Regions from separate parts of the Homo sapiens genome. Here region 1 is linked to region 2. The links are contacts of gene promoters, found by promoter capture Hi-C in blood cells and fetal thymus (Javierre and others, 2016). All regions are on one chromosome and are shown on one strand. The core of a region is centred on a gene start or on the middle of the fragment in contact, and the rest is flanking DNA. Distances in the headings are between cores, read along the strand shown.

What was found. The method cuts DNA at HindIII sites, captures the fragments that hold promoters and counts their contacts. A CHiCAGO score of 5 or more calls a contact.
Region 1: a contact is called between a fragment that was not itself captured here and the fragment with the promoter of PGM3 in region 2, in 1 of 17 cell types (non-activated CD4 T cells). The highest score is 5.0, in non-activated CD4 T cells.

The regions. Positions count from the first base shown.
Region 1 is chr6:80,099,455-80,104,874 of GRCh38, forward strand. No RefSeq gene overlaps it. Among named protein-coding and RNA genes, the nearest start is that of BCKDHB, 4.5 kb to the right of the region's middle. The HindIII fragment of the contact is 3,199 bases long and covers 1,290-4,488 here.
Region 2 is chr6:83,190,553-83,195,787 of GRCh38, forward strand. PGM3 (phosphoglucomutase 3) reads right to left here and starts at 2,713. Exons shown (of 13, transcript NM_015599.3): 1 at 2,627-2,713; 2 at 257-462. The coding sequence starts at 460. It overlaps RWDD2A (RWD domain containing 2A), which reads left to right and starts at 2,805. Exons shown (of 3, transcript NM_033411.5): 1 at 2,805-2,891; 2 at 3,760-4,100; 3 at 5,043-5,235. The coding sequence starts at 3,900. RefSeq lists silencers at 2,364-2,433, 2,734-3,103 and an enhancer at 2,676-3,175. The HindIII fragment of the contact is 15,181 bases long and covers 1-5,235 here.

The DNA.
Region 1 (5,420 bases), core at 1,639-4,138, 3.1 Mb before region 2:
CTATTTTACCTGTGTTTAGGAGTGGCTTTACATGGTGAGGAAATCAAATTGTCAAGGGTCTTTGGTGGTGACCACTGCCTGTCTGCCCCTTTGCTCTTCTCTCTTTTTCCACACTGGTCACCACCTGGTGTTCCCAATAAAGTTTGTGATGGAGGTAAGGTAAGATATGGGTCTCAAATTTCTTTTGTCCCAATATTCACAATTATGTAAGCCATAGTTTTAATTAAGCTTTGAGAAACCTAGCAGTACTCATAAATTACCTGGGGAAGTTTTAAAAAATCACTACTGCCGGGCTGGTATGTATTTTTACAGATGAGTAGCTCTCTCTAAAACACTGTTATACATACAGGCAGATATTAACATTTGTAGCCGTTTTCTGAGCCATTGATTGTATCTAAATCCTTCCCCTGGGCTGAGCCCAAACTTCCAATAATGTCACTTTTTGATGCCCTTTCTTCAGTGACTGGCTTACACGGCTTCTGTCTACATAGCATGGTTCAAAGTGCTTGGAAGACTGATCACAGTGCATCTCAAGCCCCTGCAGGAGATAAGAAGCCAGAGAGAAGTTGCCAAGATGCCGAGGAAGGGGAAGAAGGAATAACTCACATGCTGGATGGGACAGCTGGCTTAGACCAGGGGTTGGCTTAAAATAATGTTGATTGAAACACTGTCTCTGGCACATGCAAGGCTCTCAGTACACACTAGTGAATAGTAGAATCAGAATTCTTAAAATTAGAAGTACGCTAAACCACCTGTAAATGAAGCATAAATCCTCCCAAGAGGCTCCCTCAATAGTGTTCATCCATTTCGTGCTTGACTATTTCAGTAATAGAGAATTCATTACTTCCCATGACAGTCTACTTAATAAGAAGCTCTTTATATTACACTAGAATTTGCTTCTTCCTGTTTCTTATTCTTCCCTCCGGAGCTAAATAGTAAATTTAACCCCTCTACAAGGGAGCCCATCAAACTTTGAGGGAGAGTTAATACATCACTTTTAAAATCTTATCTAGACCAAATATCTCTAGATTTTTAACCCTTCTCCAAATGACTTTAGGTCATATTTGAAGAAATCCACAAAACACTTTATAAAAACTCTTTAACCATGTAAACATCCTCCTAATAGTTTATCAAAAGCATCCATAGTTTATCAAAAGCATTCATCCAGTTAGCTTCTGTTCCTGCAACCAAGTCTCTGACTGTTATGCCCCTGTCCCCTGAAAGATATGTTGAGCTTGACACTCCCCTACCCCCAAACCCAGTACCTAACCCCTGGCCCTCAGAATTTAAGCTTATTTGGAAATAGGGTCATGGCAGATGTAATTGATTAAGTTAAGATGAGGTTAGATTGGAGCAGTGTGGGCTTCTAATCCAATATGACTGGTGTCCTTATAAAACGATAGCTGTGCAAAGATATGGAGACGGCATGTGGTAACAAACGCACATACTGGATTTATGCAACTGCAAGCCAAGGGATGACAAAGAATTCCAGAGAACCAACAAAAGGGAAAAGAAGAATTTTCCTACAGGTTTCAGAGGGCGCATGGTCCCACTGACACCTTGATCTTGGACTTGATCAGAATCGCAGACAATACGTTCCTGCAACCAGTTTGTGCTGCTTTGTGACAGCATCCCTAGGAAACAAATACATTGGCTTTGAGTATATTCTGGACTTTCTTTTGATTCCAACAGGATCATTCCACTTAGTAATTCAGTGAAGTAAGGAAAATCAGGGAGCTTTTCCATTATCCCGAGTCCTTAGTTGAAACCGATTTCATATGAACAGAGTCTGTGAACTAATACACTGGATGTTAAACATGCTGTAGGGGGAATGAATCTCTTCATCAACATATTTAGATGGGCAAATATAACTTTATTTTTCTGTAATTTAATTTTTAAATAATAGTGCTACTGATATATAATTTACATATCATGAAATTCATCCTTTTAATGTACAATTCACTGGTTTTTAGCATAGAGCAAAGTTGTGCAACCATCAACATTACTTAATTTTAGAACATTTTCATCACTCAAAAAATAAACTTTAGGCCGGGCGCGGTGGCTCACGCCTGTAATCCCAGCACTTTGGGAGGCGGAGGCGGGCGGATCACGAGGTCAGGAGATCGAGACCATCCCGGCTAAAACGGTGAAACCCCGTCTCTACTAAAAATACAAAAAATTAGCCGGGCGTAGTGGCGGGCGCCTGTAGTCCCAGCTACTTGGGAGGCTGAGGCAGGAGAATGGCGTGAACCCGGGAGGCGGAGCTTGCAGTGAGCCGAGATCCCGCCACTGCACTCCAGCCTGGGCGACAGAGCGAGACTCCGTCTCAAAATAAATAAATAAATAAATAAATAAATAAATAAATAAACAAACTTTATATCCATTAGCAGTCATTCCCTACCTCCTGTCTCTGTTGATTTGTCTATTCTGGACTTTTTATAAATGTAATTGTATAATATATAGTATTTTAAACTGGCTTCTTTCACTTAGCGTAATGTTTTCAAAGTTCATCCATGTAACACTACTTAATTACTCTTTATTGACAGATAATATTCTATTTACAGATATATCAGTTTTGTTTAACCATTCATCATTTCATGGGTATTTGGATTGTTTCCACTTTTTTGCTATTATGAATAGTGCAGCTACGAATATTTGTGTACTAGCTTTGGTGAATACACCTTTTCATTTTTCTTTGTTATATACTTAGGAGTGGAATTGCTGGGTCATAAGATAATTATGTTTAAAAAAACAAAAAAGGAAGAGAAATAGAAGAACAAAATTAAAAAGATAACTGTGTTTAACATTTTGCGGAACTGTTTTCCATAGCAGCTGCATCATTTTACAGTCCCACCAGTGATGCACAATGGTTCCAGTTGCTATACAGCCTCACCAACACATGTTATAGATTTCTTTTTATTTTAATCATCCTAGTGGATATGAAGTGGTATCTCATTGTGGTTTTGATTTGTATTTCTTTAATGACTATTGATGTTGAGAATCTTTTCTTATGTTCATTGGCCACTTGCATATCTTCTTTGGAGAAATGTCATTCAAATCCTTTGTCCATTTCTTTAAATAGGCTATGTTTTTTAGAGCAGTGTTAGGTTCACAAAAAATTTGAGAGGAGGGTACAGAGAATGTCCATATGCTTTCCCCAAATACAGAGCTTCCTTAATCATCAACATTTGCACTGCAGTGGCACATTTGTCACCATCAAGGAACCTACATTAACACACAGTTGTCAACCAAAGCCCATAGTTTACATTAGGGTTCACTCTTGGTGGTGTACGTTCTATGCATTTGGACGAATGTATAATGACATATTTATATGTCCACCATTATAATATCATACAGAATATTTTTCCTACCCTAAGAATCCTCTGTGATTTTCCATTTATCCCTTCCTGCTCCCAACCCTTGCAACCCCTCATCTCTTTTATTCTCTCCATAATTTTGCCTTTTCCAGAATGTCATATAGATGGATTCATATAGTATGTAGCCTTTTTAGATTGGCTTCTTTCACTTAGTCATATAAATTTAAACTTCTTCCATGTCTTCTGATGGTTAAATATTTTTTTTTCTTTTTTTTCTTTTTTTTGAGAGTCTCACTCTGTTGCCCAGGCTGGAGCACAGTTGCGTGATCTGGGCCCACTGCAACCTCTGCCTTCTGGGTTCAAGCGATTCTCCTGCCTCAGCCTCCTGAATAGCTGGGACTACAGGTGCACACCACCACGCCCAGCTAATTTTTGTATTTTTAGTAGAGACGGGGTTTCACCATGTTGACCAGGCTAGTCTCAAATTCCTGACCTCAGGTGATCCGCCCGCCTCGGCCTCCCAAAGTGCTGGGATTACAGGCATGAGCCACCACACCCAGCTTAATATTTCTTTTTAGTGCTGAATAATATTCCATTAAGTTTATTTGGTTGCTTCCAAGTTTGGGCAATTATGAATAAAGCTGCTGTAAATATTCTGCACAGGTTTTAATGTGGACATACATTTTTAGCTTATTTGGGCAAATACCAAGCAGCACTACTGCTGGATTTCATGGTGAGAATATGTTAGTTTTATAAAAAACTAAACTGTGTTGCAAAGTGGCTATACCATTTTGCATTGCCACAATCAATGAATGAGAATTCTTTGCCCATTTTCTAATTGGGTAATTTTTCTTTTCTATTGTTGCGTTTAAGACTTTCAATCAGTATATTCTAGACACAAGTCCTTATCATTCTGATTGCTGGGTCTCCTCAAGTTCCCTGGATCTTGTTGCCATAGCTGCATCTCTCTTGGCCACATGGGAGAAGCATCCTGCTGTTTCAAATGCCATGACATGCTGGGTAGCCTGAGGATTTAGTGATACTTTTCTAGGTTCATCTACAAAGGAGGATACCTACAGGTCTTTCTAATCTATAGCTGTACCTCCATGGAAGGTGAGACAAACCATCTCTTATACTGGTATGTGATTTACAATCTTTTCTTTTAGCCCTAAGCTTTGTTTCCTAACTCATTCAGGTTTTTGAGGTTTAATACTCAGAAACCAGTCTGTAGAATTCAAACTTTTCTCTCAAATTATTGTCTCTGCTATCAAGTTTAAAATCTATTTTAAAATTCAAAAGCAATAATTTGATTTCTTTTTTTTCTGCCTCCATGATACCTCTGTTTGAGTTTGAAAGGAGGCAGATGCCAGGATGTAATACTGCAAAACTATCATCTTGCTATATAAAATGGTCGTCTAAAAGCAAGCTGAGACTAAACAGGTACAAGTTGCACAGGTAGTGAAGCTCAGTGAGAGCAAGTGATGCAAGAGTCATTCTGAAGGGTGAAGAGCAACTTTGCTTTGTATTCCAACTCCATAGTCATGGGTTCTGCAATTGGAAATAGCTTAAACAAAGAGGGGAATACATTTTAAGGATACGGTGATGTCTCATAGAACCCCAGGACCAGAAAGCAGTTAGGCCTTGGGAATAAATGGAATCAGGAACTCAAATATAATCACACTCTTCACCTTTTCTGGTTCACGAAATTACTGAAAACTCCCATTTTTTGCAGTTCCTAGTGGCATTTAAAGATAATCTGATCTTTCTTTCTAAACTACACTTCCAAAATTCCCAGAAAAGGACAGTTTCCCAAATTGAGTAAATGTGGCCAGGGCAAGGGGAATGGAGGAAAGTCCCACTGTAATAACATAGACATTTTCATGGTTACCAGGCAAATGGTGTGGTAGAGATGGGGAAAATTTAAAAAATCAGTTTGCAAAACAGGTGAATCTGGCAGGTGCTCTGTTTGTTTTTCCTGGCTGCATGTAGTTGAAAGTTCAAACCTCTTAGACCTTCAAAATCTCCCTTTAATCTGTTTTTCCTACTTTTTCTGTTAACCCTGTATCATTCCCTACACCCTGAATCTAGAAGCACCAAGCTATT
Region 2 (5,235 bases), core at 1,463-3,962:
TGGAAGGACATTGTTATTTCTCTAATATGGACACTCCAAAAAATGACAGTATCTTTTCATTCTTTCCACACCCTTAGGAATCATGAGCTTAATGATCATGCTCTTAAAAAAAAAAAGTTGTTTCACATCCAAAGCACATATAAATGAGAAGGCACATTCCTAGAATTAGAATTTGTACTTTAGGTCAATTTGCTCAGACACTAAGGCTTGGTCTTGTAAATAATGGTCTGCTTTATCAGGGCACTAAACCCATTACCTCAGGATTGTGGGACGCTGTTACCATGACTCCTATAGTGGATTTTGTCTGTTTTGACCTCAGGACAGCTAATAATCCCATGCGAAACATGACATGATCAAGATGTTCTGCCTTCGTTCGAAATCCAGCAGTCCCGTATTGAAGGATCAGTCCATTGGGCTTGGCGTGTAATGCTGAGTATTTTGTAATAGCACCTAAATCCATGTCTACAAAATTAAGAAATATTGTTTCGGGCATAACAAGTAATTTCTTAAGAACCATTTGCTTCAAAAACTGCCACCCCAAACGAATAGGTCTGTCTCATCCTGAACCTCCTCAAAGAACCCTATGTTTGACAGAGCAATGGGCAGGAGAGTAAGTCCTGTGGGTTAGAATTACCTACAAGATGTTGTCCAACTTGGTATGTCCACTCCTGGGCAGACTCAGGGCAGATAGCAGATTGTCCCCACTCTCCTCCCATTTTAGCTCCAGGACTATCCTGGACGCCGGGCACACTTAAATTGGTCCACTCTCAACTAAAATGAAGATTTTACACCTATTCAGAGACTCCAATGAGCTCAAAGATCATTTCATTTTACAAAAAGGGAAACTAACCTAAATTAACATAGATAGCTGGTGACGGATTGAGGCCTAAAGTCAGATTCTTGAGTGGACTGAAACTACATATCCCCAAATATCTGAGAAATCTTTGTGGTTCTTTTGCTATTTCTCCCAAACTACAGAGACATATTCTTAAAGGAAAAGCAAAAGGCAACAGTTTCTTCTCCAAGACTACCCAGATCTTTTTCCATTTGCTAAAAACAATCAGGACACCCTTCTAAGATGTTGCTCTAAAACTAGCAATATCTTCTTCTGAAAGAATGCCACCTTTTTCCTTTACTTTTAAAAATAAAACATCGGCCGGGAGCGGTGGCTCACGCCAGTAATCTTAGCACTTTGAGAGGCCAAGGCAGGCGGATCACCTGAGGTCAGGAGTTTGAAACCAGCCTGGCCAACATGGCGAAACCGCCTCTCTATTAAAAATACAAAAAAATTAGTCGGGCGTGTTAGCTGGCGCCTGTAATCCCAGCTACTCGGGAGGCAGAGGTTGCAGTGAGCCGAGATCGCGCCACTGCACTCCAGCCTGGGTGACAAAGGGAGACTCGGTCTCAAAAAAAAAAAAAAAAAAAAAAAACAGGCCAGGTGAGGTGGCTCAGGCCTGTAATCCCGGCATTTTGGGAGGCCAAGGCGGGCGGATCACGAGGTCAGGAATTCAAGACCAGCCTGACCAACATGGTGAGACCCTTGTCTCTACTAAAAATACAAAAAGTAGCCTGGCGTGGTGGTGCGCGCCTGTAGTCCCAGCTACTCAGGAGGCTGACGCAGGAGAATCGCTTGAACCCGCGGGTGGAGGTCGCAGTGAGCCGAGATCGCGCCACTGCACTCCAGGCTGGGCGACAGGGTGAGACTCCGTCTCAAAACAAACAACAACAAAAAATCGGCCCTTAGCCCACTAATACTGTTTTCTCTGGGATACTCCCATTAAGTGGAACTTGGGGTTTCCAACCTCAGTCAGTAGTTTTCCTTCAGTAGTCCATATACTACATTTCCTGGGTCAATTAATTCCCAATTAGCCCAGAGATGAGGAGCAGTCCGCCAGCTGCTAGCCTCATAATTTTGTTTTCTTTATTGTCCTTCATTGCTTCAATGAACAGAACTTGCAAGAAATGGTGAAAAATACTTGCTTTTGTCCAGTTGGAAAAAGCTGGCATTCAGTAAACTAATTTAGTTCAAGACAGTGATCAGATCTCTTTCCTAAGGATGAATACATATTTGTAAAAACTGAGCAGTCAGTTATGTGTCATGATTATTCATAAGAGTGTAAACCAGTCCTGTTAACTCCAAAAAGCCATTAAAAAAAAAAAGGTCCAGATAATATGAGTTCATCCTTTCATGCGTTTTAGGCCCTACAACTACTTTCAATGCCTCTGCGAATGCCTTTATTGAAAGCATATTTGCCAAATCCAGCGTCCACGCAAAAAGTTAAGAGTATCCCCCTACTCTCCATTCAATCTTCAAATCTCCTTGGTGCCTCTCTCCCGCCTACCCTCGAATCACCGCACAAGGGTGATTCCCGGCACTCCACCCTGAGGTCCCCGCCTAGGTCCACGTACCAGAGCCCCGGCAGGAGACCCGCGGCCCGTCCCGACCAGCCCGCCCGCGGGGCGCAGGGGCCTGTAGGTGTGTCCCGCGCGCTCCGCCGCTCGGTCAGTCGCCCGCCAGACCACTAGCCCCTCCGTCGGGCCGAGAATCTGACCTGTCCCGCTCCCACCGAGCCCTTGCCGACCGGTAGTCTCCCTTCTCAACTCCGAGCCTCGGGGCCCGGCTTACCTCGGTCAGGAAGCCCCCTTCACCTACACGCAGCGGAGAAGCGCCCAAGCAACAACGTCTGCACCCAAACCCAGTCCTCAGAACCGCAGACGTGGCCCTGCGTGGCTTCCGGCTCGTCGCCACGCCCCCTGGCCAATCACGGCAGAGGACTATCCGCCAGCCCCGCCCCCGCCTCGCCGCAGGTCGCGCGCAGCTGGCGCCTGAGGAACTGCGGCTGCGGTTCCGAGCGGGGTCTGGGGCTGTTACCATTGAGTGACCAGAAAGGGTGAGGCCCCCGCGGTGGCCCGGGGGTTGGGGCCGAGGGTCGCGGGCCCTCAGAGCACTGCGGCCGCGGAGGCACAGCCTCCGCCTCCAAATCCGGGCCTCTGGGGGCGGCAGGCCCTGCGTTCCTGGGAAGCCGGGGTTCCTAGTGGTCTTGGCTAGGGGCGGGGGTGGGGAATCAGCCCCGTCGCTGGGCCTCGGACAGGGCGACCTCGCCCACAGTGAGCGCCGCCGGCGGCCCGCATCCCCCTCTCCGACGTCGAGGTCATCTCCCAAACCTTTGAATCTGGGAAGCCTTCTCCGGCTGCCGTCTCCCCGGGTACCCCCTTCCCCCAGCTCACTGTAAACATCTTTTATTTAATGACCTCTGAGACACCCCCTACCCTTATCCTGGGTCCCTCGGGGCAGAGGCCAGTGAATCGTAAACGTCCGGAGCCCTGGAATGCGGCCCAAGCGAAAAGGCCACCGCGGTGTTGGGGGGGGGCGGTCCGCGAGTCCAGGACCGAGGGGTGGCGACTGGCGCTGGGGAACTCGGAGCCCATCCTGCTGGCACTGCGGCCTCTCTCGCCGCAGCGTCTGGCTCCGCCCAAGCCCGAGCCCCGGGTGGGATTGGAAGCCGGGCCCCAGCCTTTCCCAGAATTCAGGCTTGCAGAGCGTCTGCAGGTGTCTGCCTGCCACCTGCAGCGGGACAGTTCCAAACACCTGTTGAAAGTGCAGATTCCCCTATCTAGTGCGGGGTGCGGGAGGCGGGAACCCGGAGCCCGGGTACGCAGAATATGGGTTTTTACGGAGTGTTTTAGAGGATGTTGTGCATACTAGATTTTGGAGTCAGGAAATAAAGAAGAGTGCAAGTGTCTGGTTTGTGCCCCTAGCTCTCGGTGCAAAGCGTTCCTGCAGAATTGCTTCCACGTAAAGGGACCTTCGGGAAATTTCGCTGGATACCGGCTGGCATTGACAAACCCAGCGTCCCTGAGCCTTGTGAGGTTTCCAGGCAGGCTGATTGCGAGGCAACATGTCTGCTTCGGTGAAAGAAAGCCTTCAGCTTCAGCTACTGGAGATGGAAATGCTGTTTTCTATGTTTCCTAACCAAGGAGAAGTAAAACTTGAAGATGTAAATGCCCTGACGAATATAAAGAGGTATTTGGAAGGCACAAGGGAGGCGCTGCCACCAAAAATCGAATTTGTAATTACACTCCAGATTGAAGAGCCCAAGGTAGGTACCCTGATTTAAGTGTTTGCCAGGTGCCCAGTTTTTAATTGAAACATCTAGAACATGAGCTTTCTGTCAAGGAAAGATAGAAATATTCCAGGTGCATATTTCCTTGTTTGAAAGATACGGAATGCTCTATAAATTGTCTTCAGTAAATATCTTTAATTTTATGTAAACATATACACCTTTTTAACAAATATACCTGGAGTTTTTATTGACGCTATCTTGCAGTCTTATGCCATTATTATTTTGTTCACCCATCCAGTTGGACTACCTTTCACATGTATCATGATTTTCATAAATCTAAATATCTCCTGTAACATAACTGTCTTTTAAGGAGTGAATGAGTGGATTTTTTGATGGCACCATAACACAGAAAGCAAATATGGATGGAAAAATCTAAAGACTAAAAATGAATTTACCTCCATCTTCTGATCCATTTATCTCCAGCAACATTAGCATAGCATAGGTAATACGTGGACTGGGCATTTGAGAACCACTGTTGTAGCTATTTCCTACTCATCCTTCAGTTGTTATTCCCTCAGAGGAGACTTTCTGGTTCTCCAGACTGGATTCTGTCCCGCTGGTTACACACTTCAATGGAACCCTCCACTTTTCCATGGTAATGCTTTTCACAATTGAAATTAAATACTTGCTATATGTAATTATTTGTTTAATGTGTGTCTCCTTCACTAGGCCCTGGACTTCATGAAGGGCAAAAATAGTGTCTGGTTTATTCACTTTTTTATCCCAGCACAAGGGCACCTGGCACACGTAGTTGTTCAATAAATATTGAAATAATGCATAAAAGGAAGCAATCATGTATGTAAAGTACCTGGTACATTTAATAGTAGCAATAACATTTCTCAAAATCATGCAGTTGCTATTGATAAACTAGCTTATGTGATGTTATGGTATTTAAATCTATTTGATTTTCATTTTAAGGTGAAAATTGATTTGCAAGTGACCATGCCTCACAGCTACCCCTATGTAGCATTGCAGCTGTTTGGACGGTCATCTGAACTTGACAGACATCAGCAGCTACTTCTCAACAAAGGTCTCACTTCTTACATAGGGACTTTTGATCCAGGTGAGCTCTGTGTATGTGCAGCAATCCAGTGGCTACAGGACAACAGTG